Regions from separate parts of the Homo sapiens genome. Here region 1 is linked to region 2. Evidence: promoter capture Hi-C in human tissues and cell types (Jung and others, 2019). All regions are on one chromosome and are shown on one strand. Each heading gives the region's core, a stretch centred on a gene start or on the middle of the fragment in contact. The rest is flanking DNA. Distances are from core to core; before and after follow the strand shown. Region 1 overlaps CHST9 (carbohydrate sulfotransferase 9). Region 2 holds the start of AQP4 (aquaporin 4).

Region 1 (6,901 bases), core at 2,924-5,423, 89 kb after region 2:
GGCGACATACCTCACAGACATTATGTCCTGAAAAGTAGAGATTATTCCTCCTATGTTTTTAAAGATTATGTGACCAGGGCTCAAATACATGCAGAAACTTGTCCAAATTTTCATGGTCTATGGGTGAAAGGACAGCCAGCATTCTAAGGAACAACATAGCTACTCTTAAGACATAGAAAAGCAAACTTTCATTATATAAAAAAGACATATGAACATGCAGGTTTTTAGCAGCACAATTCGCAGTTGCAAAAATGTAGAACCAACCTAAATGCCCATCAACCAGTAAGTGGATAAAGAAAATGTGGTATATATACACCGTGGAATACTACTCAGCCATAAAATGGAATGAAACAATGGCATTTGCAACAACTTGGATGGAGCTAGAGGCCATTATCCTAAGTGAAGTAAGTTAGGAACAGAAAACCAAATATCACATGTTCTCATTTATAAGTGGGAGCTAAGCTATGAGGATGCAAAGGTGTAGAAATGATGTAATGGACTTGAGGGACTCAGAGGGAAGGGTTGAGGGAGGGTGAGGGAGAAAAGACAACATATGGGGTACCGTGCACACTGCTTAGGCGATGAGTGCACCAAAATCTCAGAATCACCACTGAAGAACTTATCCATGTAATCAAGAACCACCTGTTCTGCAAAAATTATTGAAACAAAATTTTTTTAAAGCTAACTTTCAGGATAAAACTAGTCTTTTTTGTCTCATATTTGGGTCTTATCCCTCCAGCTTTTGGTTAGAGGATTAAAGAGGGAAAAAATAAAAAAATTGACAAAGTTGTCTGACCGGCAGATTAAGTGGAGAGTCATCCCAGATTTCTTAAATTTTAATCTCATTATGTCTTCACAAAACAAAGCAGAATAAACTGCAGAGGCAGGTTGCGCACACTGTTGGCTCATCTTATGATGAAGGTGGTGTTGAGACACTTCTGTGCATTCATGAGCTTCAGGAATAAAATTTGTAGAAACAGCCCTAACCCACTATCATCAACATGGGTGGGGAAGGACCTATTTCTCTAAGATTTATAATTCCAGGACAACTGCCTCAAATTCTCCAAACTTTGCAGTGAGACTCACTAATTCTTCTCATTGTAAGTTGCTTGATTAATCACCCCGAACTGATTAAAATTCTAGGGAAAGTTATTTTGCTGCCTAAACAGTTTAAAGCAGTGGTTCTAAACCTCTTTCAGGTAACAGGCCCCTTTGAGAATCTAAGAGCAGTTATGATTCTGCATTTCAGAAAAATGCCAACACACAGGAAAAAAGGGAAAATGGCAGGAGGCTAATAGACCTTCTTCAGCCATGCATAGATCTGCAAGAATCTATCTGTTGCTCAAAGTCTTTTTGTTTTTTTTTTGGTCAAAGGGATTTGGAAAATACTTCTTTTCTAGGTATCTCAGTAGGAACTTTACTCTCTCAAACCATAAATTTGTAGTGCCTTACATAAAAAGTTACAATTAAATCAACATAAATCTTTTGTTTTAATAAATAAAGCACATTCATGGCTTAGATTTTAGATCACATTTATAGATGAGGAAAATTTCTAGGCCCAAACAGTAACAGTGAAGCTACTACTGCTGGAAGGAATAATGTGCCACCTGTGTCTTAAATCTCAAGAGCAGAGACTTCAGGGCAGAGAACACCATACACATCACCTCTAGACTAGGTTGCTGGGAGCCAGAGGAAGATCTTGGTGAAGTGCATGCAGCCACCATCTGCTCCCATCACCTAATGCTGCAGAACCAACTGGAGCTGTGCTACTTTGAGATAAACTAGAGGTGGGTTCCTGATCATATTACATGACACTCTCTCCCATTGTTAGCAATTAGGCAAGGACATTAGTGACAGAGGGGCATCCACTGAAAAAGACAGAGCAATACTCGAACAGCAAAGAGGAAGCCACTTAGACATTCTTGTTTCTTCAAATATCAGAAGCTTCCACATCATAGCAGGAGGGCTAGGGATGGACTTCACCTCCCAAAAGCTGTTGGCATTTGGACCAAACAAGGCTCCCCGGACTTCTGGCATCATCTGCTGGCCTGAGATCCAGTCGGCTTTTCAGGGTGTTGGAAACCTTTATTTTACAATCCCCATTGTGGATCTCAACTCCACCAACTATGTCCTCAGGCAGGTAGGACTCCTGGGCAATTGGGACATCAACAATTGTCTGTGGTGGGGATTTTGTACATAGAGACTGCCTTTGCACCATAGTTTTTACCGGAGGGAAATCTTATTTCCTGCAATGAACAGTCATTTGGGGCTCTGACAATTGGTATAAACCCTGGAGGACCAGTCCATCCAGCAGCACTTGGTACCTGGGTGTATCTTTTACCACCTTGTGAAAGTTTATTTTGAACCATAGGCTCTAACGTGTGAAATAATTTCTTGGATGTAGGCTTCTCTGGGTAAGTTACTAGTCCCTCAGAACTACAGACTCATTAGCTGTGTAGTCATTTTCTCTAACTTAAGAACTAAAAATGTAAGTTTAATATCTTACAGTATAGTATATTCATTCCAAAAAATATAATACCTTCACTGTGTCAGATACCTCCTAAGTGCTGGGCATGCAAAGATGATACAGCAGGGTGCTTGCCCTCAAGGAGGTCAGGGTCAGGTGGCAGAGAGAAATAAGTGAAGATAAACTGCAGTGCCTCCTGAGAAGTGTTTTCATAGAGTTATGGTTAGCAAGCTGTGGGCACACAGATGGGGAAAACCAATATGATTGGTCTTGGGAAACAAGTAGGTTTCCCAGAGGTATGCTGTCATTAATCACTGCTATACTCCCTTTTAACTCATGCAGGAATATGTCTTGAACAACCAGGGACCATGATTTTAATTGATTTATTATTAGCCTTTCACTTCTTGGAGTTCAAGAATATCTCTTGAATATGGATATCTAAGTATCTGTATTGTACTATCTATTGGATATCTCTTTTGCATGTCTGAGCAAATTCTAGAGATATGGTGAGTTTAAGAACTTAAAAATAAGTTCAGAGATAGGACCTGTCTTTGTAACAGGAATCAGAATAATTAGAAGGTGGAATTTGAATTAGGTCTTCAAAAATGGATGGAAGTTGGGGAGAATAATGGTGATGACTACCCTAACTAGGGGAGAGGGTTTAGAGAGAAACAGCATTGCCCAGGCAGGTCTGGGTCAATTGCTTTATGTTTAAAGCGATAGACAATTTGGGGGGCAATTATGGTTTTTTCAGCAGAGGTGGGTTATAAAGGAACATTAAACTGGTAAATAAATTGCTCAGAGTAGGGGGAGAAATTGGAGAATATCTAGGAGGCATTGGTGGGTTGCACAAAGTAAGTGATGGGTTGGGGCCTAGACTAGGGAGGTAGAAATGAGAAGGAAAATGAAGAAAATCAAAGACAGCCTGTTGAAGAAATGTTTGAAAGAAATTGGTAACAAATGAATACAGGGAATAAAGATTAGAAGGAGTTGTACCTGACTTTATTCATTCATTTATTCCAACAAATACTGTTTGATCAGCTGTCAGGTGTCATGTATGGATGGGTACAAAGTTCTGGAGACCCAACTGTGAACAAGACCATTGCTCCCAATTAGCCTGCTCCTTTCTCCCAAAGAACTGGTTGGCTCTGTTCTCCCCTTTTCCATGACATTGTCTCTTTCTGTACTATCACCTACATTTAGCATGACCACTTCTGTAGGGGTGCTTGAACTGTTTTGAAGGTGCCACATGTGAAGTCTTGAAATGGGGCAAGGAAAAGAAGATGAGATTATGAATCTATTCCTCTTTCCTGGGGTGCAAATACGCCCATTATAGATCTGCACATGTAGAGTAATTTCATATTCCAGAACTGTGGAGTTCTGGAGTATCACATCCCCCTCTTTTCACCATCAAATTGTATTTTAATAAGGAATCTGAGAATCTGGGAAAGAGGGCCAATATGGTGATCTGAAACAGGGCAGATTTGGTCATTCAGCAGACTGGGGCCCTGTCCTTACCTCTCAAAGAAGCATAGAGAGGAAGCTATTGCTTATGAAAAGGCACAGGACGAGGAAATAGCTCAAGGGGCCAATGACAGGGTGGGGAACAGGGACTCAAAGAAGTCCATGGGTAGCAGGACAGTGTGTCAGTGTCTTCAGAATATATCTACAATGCATGCTGTCTAACCACAGTCCCCAATTTGTTGAGCCCATCAACATGTCTCCCCTGGACTATGCTGTTAGCCTTCTGGGGTCTCCCAGTTGCCACTCTGGCTCTCTCCAAGTTCCTTTCTTCATCTTGTAGGCCTTGCACCATCTGCTTCTTTCCTACCACCTCTACAACCTTGCCTTGCTGTCTGTTTCCCTTCCTTTCTACCCTCCATCTACTCTGGTCTTATGTTCATTTCTGGTCCTTTTTGGCCTCTTGTCTTTTGCACATGCTGTTATCTTCTCTCTCCAATTTTGCAGGTCTGGTTCTTTCATATTTTTCAAGTCTCACTTTAATATTAAGACGTCAGGAGTTCTTCCCTGGTCACCCCATCTCTTCTTGTGATTCTTGATCTCAGCCTATTGTTTCTTTCATAGCACTTACCACAAACTTGCAATTATTTTATTTGCAGGTCTGGTTACTTTTTTGCTTGTTTCCTATTCTATAATGTAAGCTCCTTGAGGCCAGGGACTACATTCATTTTGTTTATTGTATCCTAAGGACCCAGCTCAGTGATACTGAGACCACTATCAATTATTCCATAAATATATGTATTGAACACCTAGAGTGTTCAATATATATATTGATCTCAGTGGGTGAAGCCTTGCACTAGCCTCCAACATATTGAGGGCAGCTGCTCCTGGCCCTGGTTTGCTCATGAAAGAAAGGGTACATGGGTTAAAAATCTTTAGATGGATGATATTAGGGCCTGAGTTTGACTGCTGATGAATTCTGGGCCATATCAAATGCTTTGTTTGTGATAGCAGCCCTTTTCATATTCGTTCCCAACTGATTTTCCAAAATGTTTAAGCACCTCAATAACAGGAATTACACCAGAATTCTGTTTTTTTTTTTTTTTGTATTTTACACATCTATACCATCATAGTTCTGTATTAGGAATACAGTGTGCTCCAAATTATGGGAATTGAGGGGAAGGACTGAGAGTTAATTCTACATAACTTACAAGATCATGATTTGCAATTTTCCTGATGATTAACCACATTATACTTGTCCTTTTAGTTTGAATTTACCCAAATTTCTACCATTTTTCCACTAAACTATTTACTCAAATAGTTTTTTTGGGGCACAGCTGTGGTAAATATATGCACTTTCTTTTAATTACTTTGTGCAGTGTGTGTAGCAAGGAAGCCTTGGGTAGGCTGGACAGCACAAGTGCAGGCTGAAATTGAGAGCCCAGGCACTGGAGAAGAACCCAAGACACAAGCTTGGGGTGTGTCTGGGGATGACAAGAGAGGCTGGATACAAGTTTCCTTGGCAAAAGGTCAGAGGGAGTCCAGCATTCATGACATCTGTCCAAATAAGGAAGAGGCAGGTGATTACTGGTGGTAAGGAACATATCCATGCTTTGGAGGGACTTGGGTACCAGGTCATGTACAACTCAGGAAAGAAGGCAGGAGCTCAGCTGCTGGGGGCCTGAAGGGTAAAGCAAGGGCTGATTCAGAAGGTAACAGGGCAATCTTCCAGTGACTGAGGTCACGCAGTCAGTTGAGGATCAGGGGGACTCAGGAGCCACATAGTTCATTTCTGTGAGTTATAGCCATTTAAATATGAGAAAAAATTACCTCTTCCCTTGAGCTAGTAAAATTCCAATAAATTAAAATATATAATTATAGCGCCAGGTGCAGTGATTCACGCCTATACTCCCAGCACTTTGGGAGGCTGAGGCAGGTGGATCACAAGGCCAGGAGTTTAAGACCAGCCTGGCCAACATGGTAAAACCCTGTCTCTACTGAAAATACTAAACCCTGTCTCTACTAAAAATTAGCTGGGTGTGGTGGCGCACACCTGTAGTCCCAGCTACTCAGGAGGCTGAGGAAGGAGAATTGCTTGAATCCAAGAGGCAGAGGTTACAGTGAGCTGAGATTGCGCCACTGAACTCCAGCCTGGGCGACAGAGTGAGACTCTGTCTCAAAAAAAAAAAAAAAATATATATATATATATATACACACACAATTATATCATATATACAAATATACATATATCATATATAATTATATCTATATATATATACACAATTATATAATCACTAGGACCACAAAAATAATATAATTGTGTACATATATACAATTATATATATAATATACAATTTTTTATATATATACACACACACAATTATATTATTTTTGTGGTCCTAGTGGTTATGATTCTGCTAATGATAATGTTTGTCTCTTGCTTATGGATAGCCTTAGCCTGGTGGAGATGACAATATTCTCTGGCCTATGCAAGAAAAGAGGAGGGAATCCCACTTAACGAAAACTTAAGTCATTCTCAAATTTATTCAAATCATACTTGAAAAGGCGGAATGAAATTTAGGGGGATATGTTTTAACTATATAAGCCTTTGCTAATAAAAGATTAAGAAGTATGTGGCTTAGCATCTTTTAATTATTTTTTTCTAGCAACTTGAATATACAATGTTTGAAATCTCTGGTTGGATCAACATTATTTTGCTCAGAGGTTTGTGGACTTTGCATACTGATTCTTTCCTGTTTCCAAGTACATTTGCTTTTAGGCTATTTTTATTCACTTTAAAGGAATTTTAATAACTTTCTGTTGACAGCATGGACAGCTGGTCTTGAGAATTAAAGAAAATTCACTTGCTGACTGAGGAAGGAAGTGACATCAATGAGCTTCTAAAGTCAGCCCAGCGGGGGAAATTGGCTGGTGAGAGAGTAGCCTTTCATTGCACTGTATTTATCGAGCGAT
Region 2 (7,886 bases), core at 686-3,185:
TTTGATGGCTTTCTGTTACATGGGCCTATAGGACAGTGTGTCTCACCTTGTGGAGCTTCTCTGGGGAGGGTGGTGGGCAGGGAGTCTGGGAGAGGGAGGACGCCTTCTCCTCCCGTCTATATCCCTCTTGCTGTCATTAGATCTTTGGAGCAGAGAAGGGGTGGTTTGACGATATTGATGCCAACTGCTCATTCTGGCAGGAAATGGCTAGGATTCCCCTTTTGGGGGGGGGGGGCAATTACCCCAGTTACCCTATCATCTAAGACTTTTGCCCTTGTCCTTTGCCTGTGATAGTCATGAGAGCCAAGAAGTATGGAGAGTATTTACCAGAGAATCTAATTGCAGAGGACCACGTAAGGGGTTAGGCAAGAAAGCCAAGTACTTTAAGAGATTAGTATTATTGTGGCTTTCCCTTTGACAAATTGCGGGGCCCTCATTTCCCCATGTCACTGAATGTTCCCGGGAACCTGCTTTCTGCGTGGGTAGTGAGGAAATGCAGTGCCAAAAAGGGTGAGGGGAATTTCCAGCTCAGCCTAGCCCTTAGTTTGCTATGGGGCTTTGCTTTAGAGGTGGAGAGAGAAAAACCCTTTCTTGCCCAGGCCCGGGTGGCAGGATAAAGGAAGAGCTGGCTCCACAGGGGGGTGGCCAGCCACATCCCACGCATCCCCTGCCCCAGTGAAGCGAATCTCAGAAGTATGAAAAACCCCAGGTGGGATGACAACGACATCATACTCTCTAGAGGAAAAGAATGTAAAGAGACAAAAACGATGGTTGCAATGGGGCAGGGAGGGCACCCTGGAGGAGACACTAAAAATATTCCCAAAGACGGTAAACTCAGAAAAGTCACATATTGAAGAAGTTAGGAGAGTCACTTCTGAACTCACCGGCAGCCCAGGGCTGTAGCCGGGATGGCAAAGGGGGCAAAATGCGATCATAGGTGCTGTCGTTTGTGGTCAGGGTTAGGGGAGAAGGAGGAGGACAAAACAGTAGGCTAAGGAAGCTAGGTGGGCAGGAAACGTCCTTTTCAGCCCCGCAGGAGACACCAGAAGAGGTGGGACCCAGAAAAGGCCAGCCCCGCTGCTCACCCCCTTCACCTCTCACTTCTGCCATTTCCGGAGTTCTCTCCCTGCTTGGCCTGTCATGCACCTGTTTACCTCTCCAGAGGTAGTTGCTCTTTCAGCTTCAAATATTCATCAACCAGAGAAATTTAAAACAGTGCAAAACACCAACACAAAACATAAACATGCTCTTTAAGAATGTTTTTAGCTTTTTTTTTTTTTTAAATCCACAAAAATCTGATCTTCTTCCAAGGCAGATGGACCAGCCTCACTTGGCTGTGAACCGTGAAGTTTGCTGGCAGCATATACATATCTCTGGCCTTATGAGGGCTCACCCTAGCGTCACCCATAGCACCCTGCTTTTATTGTCAGTGTTCCCTTATATGTTCACAGTCACTGGAAATGATCAACACAATTAGATTTGCTTCTTTTGCCCCAGAACAAAGCGGGTTTGTTGATGTACTGAATCGGACACATTACTTTCTAGCTGAACACTCAGCTTCATCCACTCCAGGACAGCTGAGCGTCTGGGTGAGTAATTTTTCCGAAGAAATGTACTATAGCTAGATTCACCTCCATAGGGTAATTTTCCTGGGCTTTTGCAGATCTGAAACATATGGAGGATTTGGCTAAAAAGCATCCCTTTTCTTCTACCTTCTCTATGCCTCTCTTCTGAAAATGCCCAGTACTCAGATCTAAAAGAACCACCCACCTGCCCTATAGCTGCCTTCCAGATTCTGCCTAAGAAGGCACAAACATCTATAATAAAAGAGACAGTTTCATCTTTTGGCCCTAAGCGTTGTTCCCTTAAGGCAAAGAAGGACTTACCCCCACCGCCTTGCTGTGGGTCTGTCACTCATGCCTTCCCCAGCCAGAGTGCAGCTCTCATTGCCTGCCCCGCAGCTCCCTGTGTGCTGGGAGTCAGATTACGGCCACTTGTCTGATTGGGTTTTTGGAGTGTTAGGGGTGGAAAGATTCTGCACCATGTGGCAATCGCTAAGTTATATTTGAACTTGAAGTAGCTTTTCTGTACCTGATCACTGTAGACACAGGGCATTTCAGGAATGCAAAAACATTTACTTAATTTTTTTTTTTTTGAGACAGTAATTTTTGAAAATGAGGATTTCCTTAAATCTTTATTTGAATTCTTTCTACCATGAAGAATTGTTCAGAATTTGTCTTGTTTGGTTATATGTTGTAGTTGAAATTGGGCAATTATTAGAAAATGAATTTGTATAATCCAGCAGTTAACATGAATTTAGATAGAGACTTCAGTGCATTTAGTTTTTAGCCAATGAATTCTGTTTGAAGTTTTTGATCTGAGAAGAAGCATTATAAGAACAATATATAACTGCAGCTCCATTTATAGCACAGGCAGCACTGATTTGGACAATAAAAATAAGGAAACATAGGAAATACAGGAAAAAAGACTGCTCTAGGGTGCTCACCTGACTGTTACATTAATAATCTGGGGATAAGAAGTAGCAAACTTAAAAAATATCAAAGTTGGATGGGGACGAAATTATGGGGAACTGTAGGTAAATTTAACCTCTGGAAACTTAGGGACAGGACTGATTTTATAATTTACTGGTCCCAGTGCAAAATGAATGCAGGACACCTTGGTAAAACACTATTTAAATTTCAAGATTGCGACAGCAGAGCATAAATAAAGGCTGGGTGCTCCTAAAGGCAGGACCTTGTGCAGCTGCGCAGGCTGCATGCTTATGAAGACGTCCCTGCCGAAGGAGTTTGGTGAACTCTAGAAGGGTCTAACCATTAGCTACCTGCATCACCATCTCATTATTATTTTTTCTTTAAACAGATCTTAGGTGCATGGGATTGGAATAATCAGAATTCCTGATTTATGACACTCTGTCATCACTCGTGCATGTATGGCCCTCTTATTTTCTAATAGTTAATTATAATGGCTTTTAAATAATGTAATGAACATCTATGAACCCACCACTCAACCCAACATCTAGAACAATGATAATAACTCACATTACCTACGGATGCCTCCCTTTTCCCACTTTATATTTCAGATTGGATTATTTTTTTCCAGAATGAAGTATGACAAGAAAGAAATACATGAGAGAAGAAAGACTGTTATACTTTTAAATCCCAGTTACAGTTTTTTTGTTTTGTTTTCATTTGCGTACTTGAGACATGGGAATGGGTGAAGAGCTCTCATTAGAAAGAGGAATTCAAAATTTGAGTGTGACTTTCAGAGGAGCACTTTATTACTGTTTCAAGCATTCTCAGCTAACCAAGATTGAATTTAGATTCTTAAGAATATGGTTGCACACTTATTATTGTACATCAGTGGTTTCTACCTTTAATATGCTCCCTGAAAGTCAGAATAAATTCTGATGAGAGGGGCAGGGAGAATTTATATGAAGCCACAGAGAACACTTAAAACATTTCATATTGATTCTTAAAGCTGTTTACCATTTGGATTTTAGAATGAGATTTTTAAAAGGTGCAAAATGTTTGTTACAAATTGGAAAACTGTGAGTTTCTAGGCAGATGTGCTAAATGTCATTACTCTGACCCTAAGACATTTGAGTCAGAAGTATTTTGAGGGCTGTGAAGCTAAGGCACAATGTAGCCATGTTTAGGGGCTTCCTTGTGAATGAGTACGGTGGGCAGATCCTCAGGAATCTACAGAGTGGGGCTCTTTAGGGCTACCGGTCTGGTCGGTGGGTGGACATTTTCTAGGTCCACTCTTTACAGGTTGTCCTAGGCTTATTAGCATTCTCTGCACAGCCTCGGCAGTTGCAGTTACCATTTTACAAAGTGCCAGCAAAACTTGGTTACCACGGTTTCTCAGCCTCTTTCCCTGTTTTCTGGCTGGCTGATGCTTTCCAGGGCAGTTCCTAAGGGATGACTGTTCCCATCAAGGAAGGGGTCACCCTCATTGGCTCCAACCCCTACACTTATTAGTACTCTCAGCAGAGTAGCTTAAAATTGACCAGGGATTAACTCTTCACCTGCCAGAGGTAGTTTTTCTTATTAAGTATTGCTAATTAACCTTTTTGTACTTGAGCTGCTACTACTGATCTTCCTGTGATACTGTCAGCTCTATGCAATAATCAGCTACTTATCTGGCTTTTCTTTGGACTAGGGGCAGAAATTTCCCACACGATTGTCTGTGGCTTTGTATGCAGAATGCGATAATGAAGGAAAGCAGCTATAATGTGCTTGTAGTGGTGGTGGACCACCAGGAGGTGGGAAGCTCTGGTGAACATGAGTAATACCTTCTACATTGAAATGTTTTGATGTGGACCTGGATCCAAGTGAGAGTTGGAATCTAACTGCCCCCCACCCCCCACACCACTGGTATGTTTAAAAGGGCGCAATTCATTAAAAAATTGAATAACAATTTATTATATTTTCTTGACTTTCTCATTGTATAGTGTTACGAACTTTTGGGGGAGGATAGTTACATGGCATATTGATTTAAAATTGGTCTTTATGCCAGACCACCTTGTGAATCTTTAGTTCAATAGCCTTGCGAAGTTGTGGGTCAGTAACACATGAGGAACCAGAGAGAAGCGTAAGTGAAAATGACAAGTACTTAGCAAACACTAGCTAATTGACACGCTTTTTTTGTTGTTGTTTCTGAATTTTTAATCTACTATGCCATACTATTTTCCTTGGGTGCTGTTGTATATCTTTGGGATTTGTGGACTCCTTCTCCCATCCTTGCCCTCAGAACTTTTAATATTTCTTCATGTGTTCAGAGATTGAAAACTGAAACAAAAGCACTAAACATGCCAGCAATGCCTCAGTACCAGACGGGAAGTGTCTCCAGGCTGGTAGGGGCAGATTCAATCGCAACTCATAAATCTTACTTTGCTTTTCATGAATCTCAGCATCATGAATTCCCCCAGAGCACTTATATATCAGTATGTTCATTAAAAACAAACAAATAAACAGAACAACAACAGCAGCAGCAGCCGCAACCACAACCATCACGACGAAGGGCTTAATGGGGCTTTGTTCCTTTTTCAAGGAAGCTTTACCTTATGGTTATAATTCAGGATGGCTTCCAGAAATAGAGTTCACCACCGAAAGAGTGAAATAAAAATAATGATCAAATACAGCAAGGAATCAGAGTGTTTAACTTAGCTTCCTGCTCCTTAGTGAGGTAAATTGGAGAAAACCTATCTTTCCAATGGTTGTTGAACCTTTCACAAACACCATAAATCTCTCTCTGTGCCCCACGCCCCACAGATCCAGGTTTTTATGTTTGGTGTAGCAGGCACATTTTTCTTGATTCAGATCCAGGCGGACTGCTTTGGTGGGGTAGTTGTACTCTGCTGACATTTAAGGCAGGAATTCCCTGGGAAAATAATCAAGAGATTATTTTGGAGCTGCTGGAAAAGCTCCAAAGGGTTTAGGGTTCCCCTCACTAGGCAAATAAGGAGAGAGAACGAGAGGGAGGGAAAGAGAAAACAGAAGGACTTTATTGAGTGACTGTATTTCATCTGAAGCTGGTACAAAAAACCAGAAATGTGGTTGGATGACTGGATACTTTTCTTACACCTTATCTCTTACCCAGCTAATATGACAGCTCAGAGTCTGGTTGGGCATTTAAAAAAACAGCTCAGACGTCCATAGTAGACAATCAGTTCTCCGGGAAGCAAAGGACTTCGGGATTTAATGGGTTGGACAAAATGTTTGAAATGGTTAACAGTCTAAGTGTAGCCTGTACTAGTAATTGTTTTAGAATTTAAATTAAATTTGAATATATTAAAAGCTAAGCCAACATTTTGGTGACCACTCTCACTCAGCAACCTCTGTCATCTACACAGTGATCATTACAGAAGGGCTCAGAGTACCCATATTTTTAGCAGACTGACAAAGATGTTTCCAGCTTCAAGGACAGAAAAGGTGTTTAAAATTCTGTACACATGGGGTATGACTGGCAGAGTAGGCCAAAAAACTAGGTGGTTAAAAAAAATGCTTTCAGAATAATGCTAGAAACAGAACACTTTTTAAAGAAGCAGAAGTGGCCATAATCTGTGACCACAAAAAGAAATGACTGATCTCAACAGTCAAGTTATTTAGGAATGGCCTTCGATGACCTTTCTAATAATTCAGATGCTTTCTTTTTTTCCTTCCTAAGTGATCATACATCCTTCTCTTTAACCTCTGTGCTTTTTTTTTTTTTTTTTCACATTCATACAATCAGGAAAGCACATCTGAAATTCACAGGGACTTAGAAGTGTCAAGTCTTGGCATTACTGGTTTTACCTTTCCTGGGTGTTCTTATCTCTTGCCTCACTTTGGCCTGTATTTTTGCTGCAGGGAGTATGCTGCGACCACACCTTGTCAGGCCCCACCTTGGAGCCAACTTAGGTGATTCTTTTATCCTCAATCCCTTTCCCTTCTCTCACTGCCACAGGATTTTCTGATTCTTCTTCAAACACTCCTCAGTATTTATCTCCTTCATGAAATCTGCTCTTCGCAAACTTGCTTGGTTCTAGTCACTTAAAAAACCCATAACAACCGGAAGCCTATGTGATACTCTACAGTTATAACTAGGTAATATATTGACTCATTCACTGGTGTTTTGATGCTACCTTATCTCTCTTTTAAAATATAAGCTGTAGTTATGGGAATATATGTCCTGTGAAATTTCTTACTGTGTTGGTGTTGATGATGATGATGATAAAGTGATGGTAATGATTTTGTTGATAATACCATTGTGTAGTGGAAGGAGAAGGGTAAGATTTGGCAGTCTTGGCTCGATCATTTACCTTCTGTTGGCTGTAGACCCTTGACCTCTTTGAGCTCTGTTTTCATCATCTGAAATGGAATAGATGATTATCTGTTCTGTGTTTTTGCAAATTTATGGGAAATCTATGATGCCCTCTGTGATGGTTTGGCCTGTTTGACCCTTCTAAATCTCATGTTGAAATTTGATCCCCAGTGTTGGAGATGGGGCCTGGTGGGAGGTGTTTGTGTCATTGGGGTGGATCCCTAATGAATGGCTTGGTGCCATTCTTGCAGGAGTAACTGAATTCTCACTTAGTTCCCATGAGAACTGGTTGTTGAAAAAAACCTGGCATCTCTTCCTCCCTCTCTTGCTTCCTCCTCTCACATGCCAGCTCTGCTTCCCCCTCCGCCATGAGTGGAATCTTCCTGAAGCCCTCACCAGAAGCAGATGCTGGTGCCATACTCCTTATACAGCCTGCAGAGCTGTGAGCCAAATAGACCTCTTTTCTTTTTGAATTGCCCAGACTCAGTTACTTCTTTATAATAATACAAAAATTGACCAAGGTGTCCTTCTCACCTCATTCTGGTTTGAGTCCAACTTTTATATGCTTCCATAATAGTTTGGGCTCCCGAATTCCATTGTAGAGTTGTGTCTAGCATGCTGGAATCACTTGTTTACTTTTATCTCCATCACTGGCCTGTGATGGCAACGGGAGTAGGGAACACTCTCTTAGTCATCTTACTAATTAGTCACATTGTAAAGATTAAAAAGAATTGTGGAGTAAACAAGTGAATATGGCTCAAATAAGGCAGTATCAGCAGGAATGCTTTGCAAACAGTGTTAATAAATGTGAGTAAGGATGATGCTGAGGCTCATGATTTTAAAAAAGGCATTCAAGCCGGGTGTGGCAGCTCATACTTCGAATGCCAGTGCTTTGGGAGGTTGAGGCAGGAGTATCACTTCAGGCCAAGAGTTCAAGACAGCCTGGGCAACATAGAGAGACCCGTCTTTACAGACAATTTTTTAAAAATTAGGCATGATAGTATGCACCTGTGGTCCCAGCCACTGGGGGGCTGAGGTGGGAGGATCGCTTGAGCCCAAGA

What was found. The method cuts DNA at HindIII sites, captures the fragments that hold promoters and counts their contacts. A contact is called where the count stands out against the background at its distance.
Region 1: a contact is called between a fragment that was not itself captured here and the fragment with the promoter of AQP4 in region 2, in 2 of the 25 tissues and cell types used here (dorsolateral prefrontal cortex and lymphoblastoid cells).

The regions. Positions count from the first base shown.
Region 1 is chr18:26,950,206-26,957,106 of GRCh38, forward strand. All of the region lies in intron 4 of CHST9 (carbohydrate sulfotransferase 9), which reads right to left. It also overlaps the pseudogene ATP6V1E1P2. Among named protein-coding and RNA genes, the nearest start is that of AQP4, 88 kb to the left of the region's middle. RefSeq lists an enhancer at 6,355-6,901. The HindIII fragment of the contact is 6,843 bases long and covers 753-6,901 here.
Region 2 is chr18:26,863,772-26,871,657 of GRCh38, forward strand. It overlaps AQP4 (aquaporin 4), which reads right to left and starts at 1,936. Exons shown (of 5, transcript NM_001650.7): 1 at 1,887-1,936. The coding sequence starts at 1,918. AQP4-AS1 (AQP4 antisense RNA 1) reads left to right here and starts at 1,537. Exons shown (of 8, transcript NR_026908.1): 1 at 1,537-1,589. The HindIII fragment of the contact is 8,928 bases long and covers 1-7,494 here.